3 separate regions of the Homo sapiens genome follow, and regions 2 and 3 are each linked to region 1. The links are contacts of gene promoters, found by promoter capture Hi-C in blood cells and fetal thymus (Javierre and others, 2016). All regions are on one chromosome and are shown on one strand. Each heading gives the region's core, a stretch centred on a gene start or on the middle of the fragment in contact. The rest is flanking DNA. Distances are from core to core; before and after follow the strand shown.

Evidence for each region. Contacts are between HindIII fragments. The CHiCAGO score rates a contact against its expected background, and 5 or more counts as called.
Region 2: a contact is called between a fragment that was not itself captured here and the fragment with the promoter of HMGA2 in region 1, in 1 of 17 cell types (endothelial precursors). The highest score is 5.6, in endothelial precursors.
Region 3: a fragment that was not itself captured here is called in contact with the fragment with the promoter of HMGA2 in region 1 in 1 of 17 cell types (endothelial precursors); the score reaches 5.1 in endothelial precursors.

Annotation. Positions count from the first base shown.
Region 1 is chr12:65,822,249-65,826,384 of GRCh38, forward strand. HMGA2 (high mobility group AT-hook 2) reads left to right here and starts at 2,235. Exons shown (of 5, transcript NM_003483.6): 1 at 2,235-3,133. The coding sequence starts at 3,023. It also overlaps the pseudogene RPSAP52. RefSeq lists an enhancer at 3,355-3,962. The HindIII fragment of the contact is 7,944 bases long and covers 1-4,136 here.
Region 2 is chr12:65,985,093-65,989,228 of GRCh38, forward strand. No RefSeq gene overlaps it. Among named protein-coding and RNA genes, the nearest start is that of MIR6074, 37 kb to the right of the region's middle. The HindIII fragment of the contact is 866 bases long and covers 1,725-2,590 here.
Region 3 is chr12:65,964,632-65,968,767 of GRCh38, forward strand. HMGA2 (high mobility group AT-hook 2) reads left to right here. Exons shown (of 5, transcript NM_003483.6): 5 at 1-1,660. Among named protein-coding and RNA genes, the nearest start is that of HMGA2-AS2, 18 kb to the left of the region's middle. The HindIII fragment of the contact is 964 bases long and covers 1,229-2,192 here.

The DNA.
Region 1 (4,136 bases), core at 985-3,484:
TTTTTGAATAGTAAAAGTCTCAATAATTTCAAAGATTACAACAAATTTTAATGTTTCACCTACAGAAAGTATACAGAATTCTGAAAAATTAAATACAGCTTCCAAAGAATGAAAATATATAAAATTGATTTAAGTAGAACTTGATACAATATTTGTTTTATACCCTTGTTATAAATTCAAAAGGGGTCAAATAGTCTAATAGCAAAATGATAGCAGCCTGAAAACAAGTGGCTGTATATTCCCCCACCCCCAATTTTTCTGTGCTTCTCTTATATTCAAAGATTAACGCAAAAACAAAATTTTGGAATCTGCTCTTTGCTGACCTCTGTACACGTTACCAAAAAAAAAAAAATCCTAGGATATAATGAGGTATACAGCACAAAACTGGCTGGCTGAACTCCTCAGTGACTCCCCTGCATTCACCTTCAGAATTTCTCTCTACTCCTGGCAAAAAGTGAGCAAACAACACAAACCCAAAAACCTATTTTGTACGTGTATGTGAAATGTGCACACCACAGTGCAAATATGTGATAGTTTTTAAATGTGCACGATTGGCAGTTAGGAAATGTCACTGTAATCGTTAGGTGAAACTTCAATCCCTTTGATGAAGATACCATCTTTGAGCCAAGCCCTGACAGAAAACCTTTGGTTCCTGTTAGACCCCTCCCTCCCCAGTCAGCTGCTGGGCTCCATCCGGAGGGATGGAGGCTCTCTCTCTCCATTACAGCTAAGCGTTCCCAGACCCAGCAGAAACCCTGGGTTCCTGCAGAGCACTCAACGTGCAGCAAAGTGTCCCAGCTCTGCAAAGGGCAGCTGGAAATGGATTTAAAATGGCAACGCGGACCAATCAGCGCTGCCGCGCCAAAGCAGACATTTACACGCGCCTCCTCCACATGCACAGCGGAACCTGGCGGTGCCTAACTCCTGCTTAGGGCTGCAAAGTAGGCGTTTTTATTCCACGGTGGTCTGTATCTTTGAAAAAAATAAATTCTTCCCCAGGTGAAAGTTTTTATTTTGGAATTAGTCCAAAATAATTTTGGGTGTGATGTGTGAAAATCTGAACCTAATTTTTTCAGAGTTTTGTGTTATTCAAGGATGAAAAGAGGTACATTTAAAAATGTACTCCACCTTTTAAAAACGGACTGTGGCCATTATGGTGTTCACATAACTCAGAACAGCCCAGGCCATAAAATTAGGACTTGGCAGAAAGAGAGTTCTCAGGCAGAAGGTTAAATCGAGGTAAACTGAAGGGAGAGTTGGGCAGTGAGTGCAATTGTGGTGTTAGGAATCTACAAGGTGCCCTTTACCCTGGGAACATCGGATTCCCGGGGAGGGGGATGGGGAGGGAACTTCGGTTGCCTCTAGTCTTTCCTGGAGAAAAAAGTTCAATGAAGAAGCTGGGGCGCTCTGTGTGTGCACATTGTTTGCATGTGTCTGCGAATGTGCATGTCTATCTGCGTGCCTGTGTGTATGTGTGTGTGTGTAAATGCGGGTGTTTACCAGCGCATGAATGCCCCCGTGTCCACGTGTATCTGCGTGCATGTGCTTACACGCGTGTTCGTGTGTATCTGCATGCATGTCTCCGTGTATGTGCGCGCTCGCCCGCCCGCAGGCTCTGTGGTGAGGGCATTCCGAGGCGGAGTACGGCTGTCAGGGGACCTCTCCCACTCCACTGCAGTCCCTTCCCACTCACAGTGAACCGGTGCGCTGCCTGAGGTGCAGCCTAGACGCTTCCTGCAAAGTGTTGGCTCGGCACGGTAGAGGCGCAGGTAAAGGCCAAGCCCCGAAACGTGGCTCCGGGACAGTCACGTTCCCGCGCCTTCCCAGGACAACTGCCCAGGGGTGACCTCGAGAGGCGGGTGGAGCTAGGCCCACGGCGAGCCAGCCCGGGATCCCCGGCCTGTCCCTTTAACCCCGCCGCCGGGCGGGAGCACGTGAGCGGGGCTCCGGGTGGCACCCGGGCGCCGCCGCCGCCGAGGCAGTTGTATTTCGAACGCTGCCTCTGGCTAGCAGCCAGGCGCCTTGGCTCGGCGGTCCGCCTGGCCTCCCTCCTCCTCATACTTTTCTTCCTGCGCAACCCCCTCCCCTTTATCCGCCCACGATTAGAGGTGGGCACTCCCCCCACCACCACCCCCTCCCCAAGCGCAAGCGCGTGCACGCACACACACCACACACACTCACACTCACACACACTCACACACACTCATCCCACTTGAATCTTGGGGCAGGAACTCAGAAAACTTCCAGCCCGGGCAGCGCGCGCTTGGTGCAAGACTCAGGAGCTAGCAGCCCGTCCCCCTCCGACTCTCCGGTGCCGCCGCTGCCTGCTCCCGCCACCCTAGGAGGCGCGGTGCCACCCACTACTCTGTCCTCTGCCTGTGCTCCGTGCCCGACCCTATCCCGGCGGAGTCTCCCCATCCTCCTTTGCTTTCCGACTGCCCAAGGCACTTTCAATCTCAATCTCTTCTCTCTCTCTCTCTCTCTCTCTCTCTCTCTCTCTCTCTCTCTCTCTCTCTCTCTCGCAGGGTGGGGGGAAGAGGAGGAGGAATTCTTTCCCCGCCTAACATTTCAAGGGACACAATTCACTCCAAGTCTCTTCCCTTTCCAAGCCGCTTCCGAAGTGCTCCCGGTGCCCGCAACTCCTGATCCCAACCCGCGAGAGGAGCCTCTGCGACCTCAAAGCCTCTCTTCCTTCTCCCTCGCTTCCCTCCTCCTCTTGCTACCTCCACCTCCACCGCCACCTCCACCTCCGGCACCCACCCACCGCCGCCGCCGCCACCGGCAGCGCCTCCTCCTCTCCTCCTCCTCCTCCCCTCTTCTCTTTTTGGCAGCCGCTGGACGTCCGGTGTTGATGGTGGCAGCGGCGGCAGCCTAAGCAACAGCAGCCCTCGCAGCCCGCCAGCTCGCGCTCGCCCCGCCGGCGTCCCCAGCCCTATCACCTCATCTCCCGAAAGGTGCTGGGCAGCTCCGGGGCGGTCGAGGCGAAGCGGCTGCAGCGGCGGTAGCGGCGGCGGGAGGCAGGATGAGCGCACGCGGTGAGGGCGCGGGGCAGCCGTCCACTTCAGCCCAGGGACAACCTGCCGCCCCAGCGCCTCAGAAGAGAGGACGCGGCCGCCCCAGGAAGCAGCAGCAAGTCAGTACGAGGGCGCGGTGGGGGCACCAGCCCACCCCGTCCCCACTGCCGGGGCCCAGACACGCGCGGGGCGGCCGGAGTGCGGGAGCCCAGTCGCCGCGGCCGTCGCACACTGCCCGCCGGCCGGCCGGGGGGAGCGGCGCAGACCCCACGAGTGCGCCGCGCGGCCCCGGGGCGCCAGCAACCCTCCGGGCGGGGAGGTGGGGAGCCGCGGCGGGCGGCCCGGGGAAGGCGGGAGGTGGGGTCGGGCGAAGCGCGTCCTCGGACTTTCGCTATTGTGCACGGCCCCGAGTGGCGCGGTGTCGCCCAGTGACTGGAAGCGACCGGGATCCGACAAACCCGGGCTCGCAGGCGCTTTCCGAGTTGCTTTTGCAACTGCCCGGGAGGAAGGAGGTGCCGGGGACCCGGGCGCTTCGGCCGATCTGGGCTGAAGGGGCTAGAGTCTTGGGGGCCGGAGGCTCTTTCTCCCGCCTCCCGGGGCTGCTCGCGGGTCGGGGGCTGGCGCGCCGCAGCCGCCCCCTTGGCGCCCTCCTCCAAGCTCTCGGTGGCCCAAGACTCGCGCCCTCCCGACAAAGAACGCATGGAGACCCGGCTGCCTGGTCCTTTTTGGGCTCTTTAAATATGCGGCGGCCGCCGGAGGGAGCCCGGGGCAGGGGCTACGGGGAGCCTGGTTCCCCGCAGGACGGGGTTAACTCGCCCAGCTAAGGGCGCGTTGAAAGGAGTGTCCAAGAGAGTGCAGGGTAGCCAGGGTCGCTTCCTTGTCAGGGGCCCGGTCCCCCTTTTGCCCCTGGATCTCGCGCCTCAGAGCTGCAGCCATTAAATGCTCTTCTCCAAGGCCAGTGGCCGGGGGTTGAGTAGGGGACGATCGAGGGGCGCCCGGGACCCTGCGGAGTGGAGGGTTTTGTCTGCGGATGCAACCAATTAAGCGTGCAGCCGGCGCTTGCAGAGCTGCGCTCAGCGCGCAGGGCTGGGGGTTTTGTTCGCTGTAATTTCCAAGCCGCGG
Region 2 (4,136 bases), core at 908-3,407, 160 kb after region 1:
ATTTGACATTCTAGAGATGGCTGCATGCAAACATTTAAAACCTTCGAGAGAATACAGTATGCCAGGGAGACTGTTATTATGACTTTGGGGAGGATAATACCAAGAATTTGGAGTATGCTCCTTACTAGGGTCCCCACAAACCAAACCACCTAAAATCAAATAGATTAGAGAATGAGCTAGACAAAGAGTCTACTCACTTAACTAAGCAGTCTCTTCGTTAATCCCCTACAAGTGAATCTCTATAATCTACATTTGATGTATTTCTCCATAGGCCACGAGGGCCAGCAGCTGCACAGATACTTTTCTGTTCAGCCACTAAATAATCTAGAGCAATTCTATTATTTAGCATAACTTTCAGAAGAGAATTTAAGTCTGTTGTGTAACCATAGCCTTTATAGTAGAATCTGCTACAGAGCCTGTCATGAGGGATACATTTCTAATCATTGTCTGTTTTATTCCAAGCCATGAAAAAAGAACCTAACAAATGATGCCTCTCTTGAAGAGTGAAGGCCTCCTGGCAATGTTCTCTTTAACCCATGATGTGGGTTAAGAAGAGTGAACCAATGTTCTGTTTTTGAGTGATTATGAGGCAACATATGTACAACTAAAGTTTCTTATCTACATTAGGACTTTTTTTTTCTTTTTTTTTTGAGATACAGTCTTACTCTGTTGCCCAGGCTGGAGTGCACTGGTGCAATCTTGGCTCACTGCAGCCTCTGCCTCCCGGGTTCAAGTGATTCTCCTGCCTCAGCCTCCCAAGTAGCTGGGACTACAGGTGCACCACCACGCCCAGCTAATTTTTGTATTTTTAGTAGAGATGGAGTTTCACCATGTTGGCCAGGATGGTCTTGATCCCCTGACCTTGTGATTTACCCACCTTGGCCCCCAAACTGCTGGGATTACAGGCGTGAGCCATTGCCCCAGCCAGGCCTTCATTTTTTTATCTATCAAAGTATAAGGTTATCCATGTATACGGCTGGTTGCAAAACCCTTCACAAATAAAAGCATAACCCATAAGTGCACACAACAGACCCCCTTTTCATTTCTATTGTTCATAGACACATAAACAAGGAGAAAAAATTCAAAGATAAGAGTCTCATGAGAGTAGAGAAGTCTTGATCCATGATCTCGGGAAAAGCTGCTCACATCAAGGATGCCATCTTCTGGAGAGAAACTTTCCTGGTTAGCTTTACCTTAAGGATTCCAGCGGGTGTACAGTTCCAAGAGTGTGGAGGGACCCTTCTCAGTTGTGACATTATGAACCCAAAGTTCAAGTGTCCAAAGTCTTGTTGTAGTGTAAATGGCAAGGGCAGTCTTTCCCTGATATTTTCAGAAGATCCCGTTTTCAGGTTCTAGTTTGTGAAGGAGTTGACTGTCCTCAGTAAAACATAAAAAGCTTTCTTTAGCTGGTGAAATTACAATGTAGCATAATAACGTACTGTTACAACATCAGTCCTCTTGCATGAGAGAACTTTTCTATAACCAGAAAACATGCATTGAAAATGACAATTGAATGAAATCCCTTTATAAAATGTTTAAATGGACCATCAGGTAACCAAATGTACCTGAAGTTTTGATTGTTTTCCCAGGAATATGGGTTTGACAAACCAAACACTGGTTATACACTATTTATCAATTTATAAGTTACCACACCAATATATTTAATTTTGATTATTTTATCTTTTCCATGATGAGTTATGGAATGCAGGACTTTTAATAACAAAAGCTTTAAGGGCTCAGGAAGGACAAGGCAGCTGTCCTGGTCCTCCAAGTATCCATCCTTAACATTGGACTTATGTTCTCTTGAACACCAGTTGTTTTTCCAATTTAGGTGCATAGCACTGATAACTGATAGGTTACCACAGGTAATTTGACTTAGACCACGGAGCTCATTCAAATTGCATATATAAACAATTTCAGTATTGGCTGATTTAGGATGAAAATCTGGCAAAGTATTTTCTTGGTATTTAATTAATTTTTGTTCTACATGGGTTAGTAGTTTTATAACCCAGTCAGTCTTTTCTGTAACATTCCAGGAATTTTTACCCAGTCCAAATGATATGATTCTAAAGTTATCAGAAACCTGTATTCAGGAGTGCTTTTCAAGGTTCTTTCTATCCTTTCATGAACCTCCTAAAAAACATCAGCATATTCTAGGATTTTGTATGCTTATGAAGTTTTCAGAAACTGCACCAGCATTAACCAATTAACTGGAAATAACTTTAAATAGTCATAGTAAAAAATACAATTGACAAGGAAATTTGGTTCTTTCTGTGGTCTACAATAACAACATAATAACCATAATTATAATTGATAGCATATAGACATATTAGAATTTTAGAAATCCCATGCAATTTTGGGACATATTGATGATATACACTAGAATGTAACCTAAAGATGTATAACCTAAAACCTATAAACATTATTTCTTATTTTGACAATACTTCCTATGTAACTTAACATACCAAATAATCTTGTTTACCTCTTTTTCAGTTGCTTCAGGGGCCCTATGTAGCATCCCAAAGTTAGAGGTCAGAAAAGACAATTTTGCAGCTGAAATTTGATTTTGGGAAGTCTTTCAATATGTTAAAGCTTTAAAACACTTGATATTATGAGATAGAATTGCAGGTCACCACAAGCCATTCATTTAGCCAAAATAATGAGTTTAAAAAAATTTTTAAGGCAAAAACCTTTACATATTGATAGAGGGAAGATTTAGCTTTCCAAATAATCTGTCCCTTGTCTTTCCCTTCTTTTTTCAGTAGTTTATTCAGTAGTTATTCAGTAGTTTATTTGTTTGCCTTATTCAAAAGGCAAACAAAAGTCTTTCATTATCCTTTGATATTACCTGAAAATTTTGTTTGAGAGGGAACCAAACTTCACACTTCCATTAATCTACTATTAATGTCAACCCCAATTTTTAATAACACTTATAGACAAATTTATCAATTTAATCAGTTTGGCCAAAAGGTGAGATTCTCATAAACCTTTATAACCCTTTACAATTTTTGTTAAAGACCAGATCAGTACTCTAAGAAAAACCTGTTATGCTTTTATTTTAATGTTCAATTTACAGAAAAACTGGATAATACCCCCTTTAACTTTAGCCAATATGGTTACAAACAGAACGTTTTACAATTAATTTTACACACCTTCCACAACTTGCTCAAAGCTTTAGCATTTTTTTTTTTTTTTTGAGGCAGAGTTTCACTCTGTTACCCAGGCTGAAGTGCAACGGCACAATTTTGGCTCACTGCAACCTCTGCCTCCCAGGTTCCAGCAATTCTCCCACCTCCCAGCAATTCTCCCACCTCAGCCTCCACAATAGCACGTGTATGCCACCATACCCAGCTAATTTTTTGTATTTTTAGTAGAGATGGGGTTTCACCATGTTGGCCAGACTGGTCTTTGAATTCCTGACCTCAAGTGATCTGCATGCCTTGGCTTCTTAAAGTGTTAGGATTATAGGCATGAGCCACCGCACCTGGCCCAAACCTTTAGCTTTGTCTTATTTAATTTAAAACAATCCTTTAACCCTCTAAACTGGGTAAAAATTTACATTCCTATGCCTTCTTATAATTTTTTTTTACCAAAAGCATATTTCACTTTCCTTACACACCTTGAATATAAAACTGTTTTTTCAGTATCTCAATTACATGTGATAATGGTAACTCTTAGCAACTTTTATTTTTGGTGCATAAATTTCCTTTCACAAGTCTTTTCATGACTTGCACAGATCATCTACAACATCCTTGGACTTTCTCACTTGTCCTAAACATCCCTTTTTTAAACTAGTTATTTTACTTTAGGACAAGAATTTACCATACAAGATCCTTTCTTTCATAAAATTTCTTTTCTTTATAATCTTCTTTGCATAGCTAAGGGGCATGGCTAATTCCACATGTTCCCAGGCCTTATCTAGAATCTAATGTCTCCAAGGTAGGTAAATTGAACAATTTTCAAAAGTCAAAGCAGTTTATGACCTTAAAGCATTTAGCAAACCTAATATCTGACCTGCCTAATTTAGAACAAAAGTCTTTATTTTACCAATAATCTTTTAAACTTTTTATTTCCCAAAGATTACTAAGGTTACATGAACTAAAAAGCCTTAAAATTTTTATTTTTCTTTCAAAAAA
Region 3 (4,136 bases), core at 461-2,960, 140 kb after region 1:
GGGTAGGTGATTCTAATCATCTGCAGTTCTTTTTGTACACTTAATTACAGTTAAAGAAGCAATCTCCTTACTGTGTTTCAGCATGACTATGTATTTTTCTATGTTTTTTTAATTAAAAATTTTTAAAATACTTGTTTCAGCTTCTCTGCTAGATTTCTACATTAACTTGAAAATTTTTTAACCAAGTCGCTCCTAGGTTCTTAAGGATAATTTTCCTCAATCACACTACACATCACACAAGATTTGACTGTAATATTTAAATATTACCCTCCAAGTCTGTACCTCAAATGAATTCTTTAAGGAGATGGACTAATTGACTTGCAAAGACCTACCTCCAGACTTCAAAAGGAATGAACTTGTTACTTGCAGCATTCATTTGTTTTTTCAATGTTTGAAATAGTTCAAACTGCAGCTAACCCTAGTCAAAACTATTTTTGTAAAAGACATTTGATAGAAAGGAACACGTTTTTACATACTTTTGCAAAATAAGTAAATAATAAATAAAATAAAAGCCAACCTTCAAAGAAACTTGAAGCTTTGTAGGTGAGATGCAACAAGCCCTGCTTTTGCATAATGCAATCAAAAATATGTGTTTTTAAGATTAGTTGAATATAAGAAAATGCTTGACAAATATTTTCATGTATTTTACACAAATGTGATTTTTGTAATATGTCTCAACCAGATTTATTTTAAACGCTTCTTATGTAGAGTTTTTATGCCTTTCTCTCCTAGTGAGTGTGCTGACTTTTTAACATGGTATTATCAACTGGGCCAGGAGGTAGTTTCTCATGACGGCTTTTGTCAGTATGGCTTTTAGTACTGAAGCCAAATGAAACTCAAAACCATCTCTCTTCCAGCTGCTTCAGGGAGGTAGTTTCAAAGGCCACATACCTCTCTGAGACTGGCAGATCGCTCACTGTTGTGAATCACCAAAGGAGCTATGGAGAGAATTAAAACTCAACATTACTGTTAACTGTGCGTTAAATAAGCAAATAAACAGTGGCTCATAAAAATAAAAGTCGCATTCCATATCTTTGGATGGGCCTTTTAGAAACCTCATTGGCCAGCTCATAAAATGGAAGCAATTGCTCATGTTGGCCAAACATGGTGCACCGAGTGATTTCCATCTCTGGTAAAGTTACACTTTTATTTCCTGTATGTTGTACAATCAAAACACACTACTACCTCTTAAGTCCCAGTATACCTCATTTTTCATACTGAAAAAAAAAGCTTGTGGCCAATGGAACAGTAAGAACATCATAAAATTTTTATATATATAGTTTATTTTTGTGGGAGATAAATTTTATAGGACTGTTCTTTGCTGTTGTTGGTCGCAGCTACATAAGACTGGACATTTAACTTTTCTACCATTTCTGCAAGTTAGGTATGTTTGCAGGAGAAAAGTATCAAGACGTTTAACTGCAGTTGACTTTCTCCCTGTTCCTTTGAGTGTCTTCTAACTTTATTCTTTGTTCTTTATGTAGAATTGCTGTCTATGATTGTACTTTGAATCGCTTGCTTGTTGAAAATATTTCTCTAGTGTATTATCACTGTCTGTTCTGCACAATAAACATAACAGCCTCTGTGATCCCCATGTGTTTTGATTCCTGCTCTTTGTTACAGTTCCATTAAATGAGTAATAAAGTTTGGTCAAAACAGATCAAGGAGGGAGACACTCACAAGTCATTTTGTTGCACCCCTTGCACACATCTTGGCACACATGTACATAAAGTGTGTTTTACATATCATACTCCTTCAATCAACTGCCCTGAGCTCGCCTTTCAGATTTTGACATTTAATTCTACAGAGACAATCTTAGAAGAAACATGAAGAACAAGCTGTAGCTCCAAACTACAGAATTTTTACTTCAGGCTAGCACCTACAAAGTTTGTAAGGGAAGTAACTAATGCACTAGTCGTCTTTGAAGTAACATTGGAAAGAGATCCGGAAGATTGATGAATAAGAAATGAAAGCCACGAAGAGTCTCCTAGATAGGAGCCTTTTAACTCTAAAAACTACTAGCAGAGTCAGAATGATTCTACCAAGTTCAAGGTCAACTTGACACTTAAGTTGCTAATTATGAATAAATCTAGGATTTTTAAAAAGCTAAAACTTTCGGTTTTTACTATCACCGTTGTTACTCAAATTTTCTTCATTTAGCTTCTTAGAAGGAGAAATTTGTTTCTAGGAAAAGCTTGCCAATTTTAAGACATCTACTGTCAGGAAATTTGTTAAACGTATTATTTCATTCCTAAATTCATTCACTTATTCTCACAGCCAATATTCTGTGAGTACCTTACTGAGTTGTCCTGAAAAGTGGTTGCATCCTGAAGCCCCTGCCAATACCAAGGACAAATCACAGGCCCTCTCACAAAAAGCCTTTATGGTCACCATCAGAGAGGGAGAATGAGTTTCAACCAATGTAGCATTTCACATGGGAGCGTGGGGAGGGTATGTATCTTTTAATGGGCTGAGGATGCTCAACTCTCTGGTGAATTCAGGAATAGTAAATGGTTTAGGAGTCTAGGCAGAAATAAAAATAGAATTTAGGAATGAATACCATCCAGCTAGGAGGCATATGAGGCAAACTCCAACTGTAACAAAACTTCAGAGAAGTGAAACATAAGAAGCCCAAGACCAGCACAGTGGCGCACTCCTATAGTTTCAGCTACTCAGGAGGCTAAAGCAGGAGGGTCACTTGAGTCCAGGAGTTGGAGGCTGCAGTACACTGTGATCACACCTCTGAATAGCCACTGCACTTCAGTCTGAGCAACACAGCAAAACTCTGTTTCTCAAATTAAAAATAAAAAGCCCAAGGGCAGAGAGAAGACGGCAGATTTGATGCTCTTCTTTTCAAGTTAGTTTTATTTCTGTGAAATGACTTTTTATTGAGCAAGACTAATTTCTAGAGTTAGGTAAGGTCATTCTTGAGCAAGTACTCTTCAGATCTAGGAATTCTGGCCTAAAAGTGGACGAAAAGTTGAAAAGAATCAAAATTTTTTTGAAATACATAATTCAGATAGACAACAACCGGAGGGGGGAGTCAAAAGGCAACAACAGGGGTCTACACCCCTGGTCTGAGTTCAGCCGTCTGTAAAACTTGGCAATTTTTCTTCTGAAGTAGGAGGGAAATGGCTGCAGATATGACCCTCTCTCCTCCATCCTCAGCCTCTGTATTTGGGACTCCACCCAAGCTAAGCCAGTCATGCCTTGGTTCCACTCTCATACCAAGACCCAGTTGCGGCCCATGGGAAAATGCCTCATGTCAGTGAGCAATACTCCACTTTGTACCTAGTTTGCGATAGTTAGGTTCTTGTTTTTGCCTTTGAGCCTAACTCAACACCTTGATGATCTGCCTCCACCCCATGAGTAAGCCCATCTCAGCCTTCCCAGGGCCCTAAATTCTTCCCCTGTACTGCCACCCACCCTAAGGTTGACCCCTTGTGACCTGTTAGTCCCATCTCCCTTTCTTCTATTCAATTACCTATTTTCTCACTCTTGGAAATTGCTTGTCCTGTGGCTTCCTTAGTCCTAGTTTAAGCATACATTCTTGAGGATGTGAAATAGCAACATTTGAGAATGCTGCACTGCCAGAACCCAGACTGTGGGGTATCCACCTTGAAAGAAACTTGCTATGTGAGGAAAATGGTAGACACAGATCTAGCTCTAGTAGTGTGCTGCTGCTGAGAATATAGAGAGGTTGGAGAAAAGAGGAGCCCTTTAACACACTGCCATGTTCTCCCCAAATCCTGGAGATCTCAAAAGCGTCAATGTCCTCCTAAGTCAGATCTCTAACTGATGTCTGCTGTTCCGCTGGGCACATTGGCCAGGTTTTAGAGGAACCTAAGGAACAGGAGCTGCCATTTAAGTGGCAATGCTCCAAGGGATGCAATGAAACAAAGAAAAAGTTGATATTAAAATACAGATAGTTTAGTCTAGTGCAGGCTAGCAGCTCCTGCCCTAGAAATGAATGGCTGTGTTAGCCAGGATCCCTTCAGTTGCACAAGACATAAACCCAATGCAGAATGGCTTAAGCCAAACAAAACAAAACAAAACAAAATATGTAGTAGCTGATAAACTAGGAAGTCCAGGATGTGGATCTTTAGGTATGGCTTGATCCAGGGACCCAAGGATGT